Linked DNA regions of Homo sapiens: region 1 is linked to region 2. Evidence: promoter capture Hi-C in 16 types of primary human blood cells and fetal thymus (Javierre and others, 2016). All regions are on one chromosome and are shown on one strand. The core of a region is centred on a gene start or on the middle of the fragment in contact, and the rest is flanking DNA. Distances in the headings are between cores, read along the strand shown.

The links. The method cuts DNA at HindIII sites, captures the fragments that hold promoters and counts their contacts. A CHiCAGO score of 5 or more calls a contact.
Region 1: the fragment with the promoter of MSH4 here is called in contact with a fragment that was not itself captured in region 2 in 1 of 17 cell types (M1 macrophages); the score reaches 5.8 in M1 macrophages.

The regions. Positions count from the first base shown.
Region 1 is chr1:75,795,444-75,799,012 of GRCh38, forward strand. It overlaps MSH4 (mutS homolog 4), which reads left to right and starts at 1,439. Exons shown (of 20, transcript NM_002440.4): 1 at 1,439-1,786. The coding sequence starts at 1,543. The HindIII fragment of the contact is 6,934 bases long and covers 1-2,955 here.
Region 2 is chr1:75,268,051-75,271,584 of GRCh38, forward strand. The region is part of intron 6 of SLC44A5 (solute carrier family 44 member 5); the gene reads right to left. Among named protein-coding and RNA genes, the nearest start is that of LHX8, 140 kb to the left of the region's middle. The HindIII fragment of the contact is 4,411 bases long and covers 1-3,534 here.

The DNA of each region.
Region 1 (3,569 bases), core at 189-2,688, 530 kb after region 2:
AATTCAGCCGCAGCCTCTCGAGTAGCTGGGACTACAGCCGCACACCACCATGCCCGGCTAATTTTTATGTTACTTTAGTACAGACAGGGTTTCACCATGCTGAGGAGCTGGAGACCAGCCTGACCTTGTGATCCACCCACCTCGGCCTCCCAAAGTGCTGGGATTACAGGCGTGAGCCACCACGCCTGGCCTAAAATGAGTACAATCACTCTAGGGGTTTACAGTTTTGGTGAAAGTGAGGTATTCTCTATTTTTAAATTTTATTTTTTAGAGACAGGGTCTTCCTTTCTTCCCCAGGCTGGGGCATAGTAGTGCAATCACAGCTCACTGTAACCTTAAACTCCTGGGCTCAAGCAGTCCTTCCACCTCAGCCTCCTGAGTACCAGGGTCTACAGGTACCTGCCACCATGCCCACTATGCCCAGCTGATTTCTTAATTTTGGGGACAGGCACTGTCTTCCCCAGGCTGGTCTCCGGAGGTGAAGTAATCCTCTGGCCTCAGTCTCCCAAAGTACTGGGATTACAGGGAGGAGCCATCGTGCCCGATCTGAAAATAAGGTTTTTTGATGGAAATTGAGATTTTTCTCAAGTATGTTTGGAATGCCCTGTGCAATAATCATTCCAAGAACAGAGATGTTCTTAAGGACTGTTGTCACTGCATGTGGGTAAACCGCTGTGCATAACTGGTTTATTGAGATACTCAACAGTGGCAGGATTTCAGTAGTGGTGTAAATTAATGTCTTCTAATAGCTTCTGTATGGCAGTATCCAGATAATTTCGTCATGTTTAATCCATGGATCTCTGGTAAGTTGGTACTATTGGCCTTATTTAAGGAATTTTCTAAAGGTCACCACTGCAAAGCTGGAGTTTGAACTTCTAGTGTGCCATTAACTGATTTATATGTTAGAAACCACAGTACTAGAAATTGGTAGATGGGGAATTGTTAACTGAGAGATCTTACCCAGTCAGTCTTTCCCTGTTTCCTACTCTACTATGCACACAGCCATGTGCATACTATCTTTTGATAATATAACTATCTTTCCTATATTTGGTCACAAGATCAACCTTAGGTGGGTTATGCTGTGTGAGCATTACACGTTCTCATTGTGTCAAAGGCACTGGGTGTACTGTGTTGGGTGGTTTCTACATTTAAAGATAAGCTAGTGTGCTTGGACGTGTGGGAAATGCATGTAACATTTGCAATAAGGGAGATTGGGTGCTGTGAGAATAATGGGGCTAACAAATCGGGTGGTCATTGATGGGCCTTGCAGAGTTCTGGTCAGTCTGATACCTGCAGGCTGAGGATGTTCCAGTGAGGTTCATGTGGAAAGTGATGGGTTTGGGAATGGCTGGAAGCAGGGTCATAGACCTGAAGTACGTGAATCCATGTGGAAAGCTGAGCCTGCCTGCGCCTGCGCAGTGCAGCTTAGTGCGTCGGCGCGCAGTTCTCCCGCCCGTTTCAGCGGCGCAGCTTCTGTAGTTGGGCTACTGGAGGGGTCGCTCAGAAACCTCATACTTCTCGGGTCAGGGAAGGTTTGGGAGGATGCTGAGGCCTGAGATCTCATCAACCTCGCCTTCTGCCCCGGCGGTTTCCCCGTCGTCGGGAGAAACCCGCTCACCTCAGGGTCCCCGCTACAATTTCGGACTCCAGGAGACTCCACAGAGCCGCCCTTCGGTCCAGGTGGTCTCTGCATCCACCTGTCCTGGCACGTCAGGAGCTGCGGGCGACCGGAGCAGCAGCAGCAGCAGCCTTCCCTGCCCCGCGCCAAACTCCCGGCCAGCTCAAGGCAAGGAGTGATTGGGTGGAGGAGTCTCCTTGAGGCTAGAGGCCGGCAGTTCATGGAGGCTCGGGGGCACGTGGGTGGTGGTTACCACAGTGAAGTTGTGATTTGGTTGGGGCGTGAGATCTGAGTGCCCTGGGAATTTGGTGAGTCTGGGTGATTAGAAGCCTTGACTTTTCAAATTGGTTCTATTGCAAGACCTTGACTGTGGATGGCTCAGTTCTGAGAAAGGCTGAAGTATCCCATATAACGTCCCTCACAGTGTCTGACAAATGACAGTTTGTGCGTGAGTTTGCTGATAGAAGTTGTGAGCTGATCTTTGGCTGCTGAATTTAATTCTCCAAATCCTGCTAAGGTGGGATAAAATAGATTAAATTGAACATTTCATCTAATTCAGGGAAAATAATATGTTTAGTATTAAAAGAGTGGGCTGGGCGGTGGCTGACGCCTGTAATCCCAGCACTTTGGGAAACCAGGGTGGGCGGATCACTTGAGGCCGGGAGTTCCACACCAGCCTGGCCAACATGGTGAACCTCCCACCCCCATCCCCTATCTCTACTAAAAGTACAAAAATTATCTGGGTGTGGTGGCACGTGACTGTGGTCCCAGCTACTCAGGAGGTTGAGGTGGGAGGATGGCGAGTCCGGGAGGTCGAGGCTGCCGTGAGCTGAGATTGCGCCACTGCATTTCAGCCTGGGTGACACAGTGAGACCCTGACTCAAAACAAACAAACAAAAAAGATGCATGTCCTTCAAATCATTTATTATTTTGTTAGTCTCTATTCATGACAAAGCATCACCATTTTTCACACACGATTGCAACACAATGGTAAAGTAACAAATACCAAATCCAATGGTCATTTTTCAGTTCATCTCATGTGACCTTTCTGCTGTATTTAATGTTCTTAATTTCTTTATTTTTAGAAACAGAGTCTCGCTATGCTGCCCATGCTGGTCTCAAACTCCTGGTCTCAAGTGCTCCTGCCTCGGTCTGCCCAAGCATTGGGATTACAGGCATGAGCCACTGCTGCCTGGCCTATGTTTAATGTTCTTGACTGGTCTTCTCTTAAACTCTTTTAATTTGGCTTCCTTGATTCCACTTGCCCCTGTTTTTCTGCTACCTCCCAGAGAATTGCTGTGCCCACCTTTGTTCCCAAATTATGGGCATGTCATTAAAGCTTTTTTTCCTAGGCCACTTCTACCTAGATGTGACTATCTCCACAGCTCAGATCTCATCTACACTCCAGACTTACTTCAGACTGTCTTCTGAAGTTTTTATTGATGGACTAATGGATACCTCAGGCTGACTATATGATTAATTAAATTCCTCTCTGCACTTTTTTTTTTTTTTTGAGACAGAGTCTTGCTCTGTTGCCCAGGCTGGAGTGCAGTGGCATGGTCATGACTCACTGCAGCCTCAAATTCCTGGGCTCAAGCGATCCTCCCACCTCAGCCTCCCGAGTAGCTGGGACCAAGGCATGTGCCCCTACAGATGGCTAATTTAAAAAATTTTTTTGTAGAGACAGTGTTTTCCTACGTTGCCCAGCCTGGTCTCGAACTTCTAGGCTCAAGCGATCCTCCTACCTCAGCCTCCCAAAATGCTGGGATTACAGGTGTGAGCCACTGCACCTAGCCCTCAAACTCTTAAGTGTTCTTCCATCCTTGTAGCTTACTTACTGTACCACCAGAGTTATGTGGAAAATGATCTTATCATGTCCCTTGCCACTTAAATCAGTAGACCTGTATCTGCAGGTAAAAGATCAAACTCTCTAGAAGGATAGCCAAAGCAA
Region 2 (3,534 bases), core at 795-3,294:
AATACTTTATCAGAGTCCATAGGACACAGAAAATATGACTTCTACCTGTTTCTCAGACATCTCCTCATTCCACCACCCTCTTTATCGGCTACGTTTTGGCCTCTTGGCTTCCTTCTAGTGCTAGTCCTGGTGTATCATAGGGTCACTCATGCCTCAGGACCTTTGCACTTATTGCCTCTGGCTTGAGTGCTCTTCCCAGGGCTTTTGAAAGGCTGGTGTCTTCCTGGTCTTCACATCTCAGTTCAGAAGTCACCTCCTCATGAGAGTGCTTCCCTCACCCCGTAACCACAAGGTAACTACCTCCCATTGCACACCAGTCATTCTCTGTTAGGCCATCTGCTTTGTTTTTTTTCTTCATAGCATTGATCACTATTTGAAGCTATCTTGTTATTTACATTTTTATTGAGAATCTCCCTTTAACTTAAACGTAGGCTTCATGAGGGCAGGTAGCTTGTTCATTTGTTTTTACTATAACCTCAGCCTTTAGAAAACTGTCTGGGATATAATAGGGGCTCAGAAATATGAGAATGAAAATAAAAATATAATCCCATAATTGAAAATAATTACTGTAAGCATATGTATATCCGTTCAGACTTTTTTCTTGCATATGTTTTCATATATGTGAATATAGAGTATACAAGTGTACAAACATACCAACAAAATGAAATTATACTACACATGCCATTTTAATAACTTCATTTCTTGAATTAACAATATATCATGAGCACATTTCCTTGCCAATAAATATATCTCTACCCAATAATTAATGATTAAATGGTATTTTATAATTGACTATACCGTAATTCATTTAATCAATCTCCTATTGAGAAACATTTAGGTTGTTTCCATTTTATTATTACTATTACATAGTGCCTATAACGTTAGGAAATCTATGCAAATTTCCACTAGATGAGTTTCTAGGATGAAAACTGCTGAATCAAAAAGAACCTATATGTTTGATAAATATTTTATAAAATCTGATAAATATCAAATTACACTACTGCCAGTAGAAAATGAGGCGATTTTTTCTCCTCACTCTGGCCAACACCGGAAATTTTAATATTTTAAAATTTACTTGACAACCTATAAGACAAAAATAATATTTTAATTAATTTGCAATTCTTTTTTTAACTGTAGTTGAACTATATTTCTATCATTATTGGCCATTATATTATTTCCTGTTTATGACTTTTACCTACTTTCATATAGGATGATCTTTTTTTCTTTTTGATTTTGAAGAACAGCTCATATAAAAAAGGTGTTGATACATTTGGTCAGATATATATGTTGAAAATATTTGTTTTTCCTAGATTTCCATTTATCTTTCAACTTTGTTTCCAATGAGTTAAGGTGTATTTATGTGTTGAAATTCTTCAAAATTTCTATTTTCTGCTTTTGGTGTTATCTTTAGAAAAGTTTTCTTAACCCCATAATTCTATAAATATACCCTTGCATTTTCTTCTGTTACTTCTATGGTTTTATATTTTATATACAAAATCATCAATGCTTTAGTGTTTATTTTGGTATAAGATATGAGATAAACATCCAATTTTATTTTATTTTTATGAATGGTATTTCAGTTAATTCAATACTATTTATTTAATAATCATCTTTCTGCTACTGACTTGAAATCCATCTTTATCACATTCAAAATTTATATTTTTAATAGGATTTCTTTCTGTCTGGTTTTATGATAGTTTCACATTGTTATAATAATGTTACTATCATGATATATTTACTCCAATATTTTCCCTTGATACCATTTGATATGGTTTGGCTGTATCCCCACCTAAATGTCATCTTGAATTATAGCTCCCATAATTCCCACATGTTGTGGGAGGGAACCCGTGGGAGATAATTGAATGGTGGGGGCAGTTTCTCCCATGCAGTTCTGTTAGTGAATAAGTCTCACAAGAGCTGATGGTTTCATAAGGGGAAACCCCTTTCACTTGGTTCTCATTCTGTCTTGTCTGCCACCGTGTAAGACGTGCCTTTTGCCTTCTGCCATGATTGTGAGGCCTCCCCAACCACGTGGAACTGTGAGTCCATTAAGCCCCTTTTTCTTTACATATTACCCAGTCTCAGGTATGTCTTTATCACCAGTGTGAAAATGGACTAATACACCATTTTATACAATAAAACTTATGCTTAAAAAACTTTTAATATTGACTAAAATCTTGCATTTTTGTAAATATTTTACTGCTGAAAGTCCAAATATAATTTAGAGTAACTTATTAAAATTTTAAATTAATACACATTTATCATAAGAATTAAAACAATCATGAGACTTAAAAATGTACATTAGAGCAGGTTACAGGATTCAGAAACAAATATATAAATTTATTATTTAGTAATTGTTTTAGAAATCAGAGAGGAAATGGGTATATTATTCAACAAACGATTCTGAAATAATTAACTCAACAATTTGGGAAAATAGTTTGATTTCCACTTCAGTCTATATACAAAAATAAATTTCTAGGGAATTAGAAATTTAAATATAAGAAGGAAGCCATCAAAATACTAGAGAAATATTGGAGAATGTTATTTTCAGGGCGAGGAAGGCAATGATAACCCAGACCCCAGAAACTGTAAGGGAAAATCAACAGAATCAACTGTTGAACATATATACATGATTTTCAGTGGTTCCATTCTATTTCATTAAATTGATGGGCCATAATTTACTATCATTCACATATTGTTGAGTATCTGTGTAGTTTCCAATATATTATTATTTTGAATAATACTTTAATGAACATGTTTGTATTAAGCGAAGCCTATCTTTGAAAGATCATTATGTACTGAAATTTGTGCTGTCACATTTTTGTTTGACATAAGTGGATCATTGGCTTATGTCTGGAAAACTTCTTGTTACAAATGCCCTTTTAAAAACAAACTGTCTTAAAGAACTAGAGATTGAGAGATTTGTATGGTTTCTTTTACCACTTGGTGCTCTCTTTGTCCTTCACAGTGTGAAGGTTGCAAAGGTTTTGTGGGCAATGTCTAGAATTTTCTGAGTTACTGAAGTTAAAAGAATTACCTCCCTGGATCAAAATTTAGCCCAGTCATCTCTAACAGGCAATGAGGAGTCAACTAGTCCCCTATAAATTTACCCTGACATGATTAGGAATTTGCCCCTCTCCTTAAATTTCTGGGTTTTCTTGATTGTGATAATTCTACTTCATGAATTTTGTTAACCATTTTCTGAATCTGTCTTTTTTCTTTTCTTATTTACATTTAAAAATTATTTTTAAAAATGTTAATAGTTTTTTGGGTACAGATGATTTTTGGTTCCATGGATGAATTCTTAGGTGGTGAATTCTGAGATTTTAGCGCACCCATCTCTTGAGCAGTATATACTGTATGCAATGTGTTTTCTTTTATCCCTCACCTCCTCATAGTCTCCCCCTCCTCGAGTCCCCTAAGTCCATTATATCACTCTGCATGTTTTGTGTGTGTGTGTGTGTGTGTGTGTGTCCTCATAGCTTAGCTCTCACTTATAAGTAAGAACACACAGTATTTGGCTTTCTATTCCTG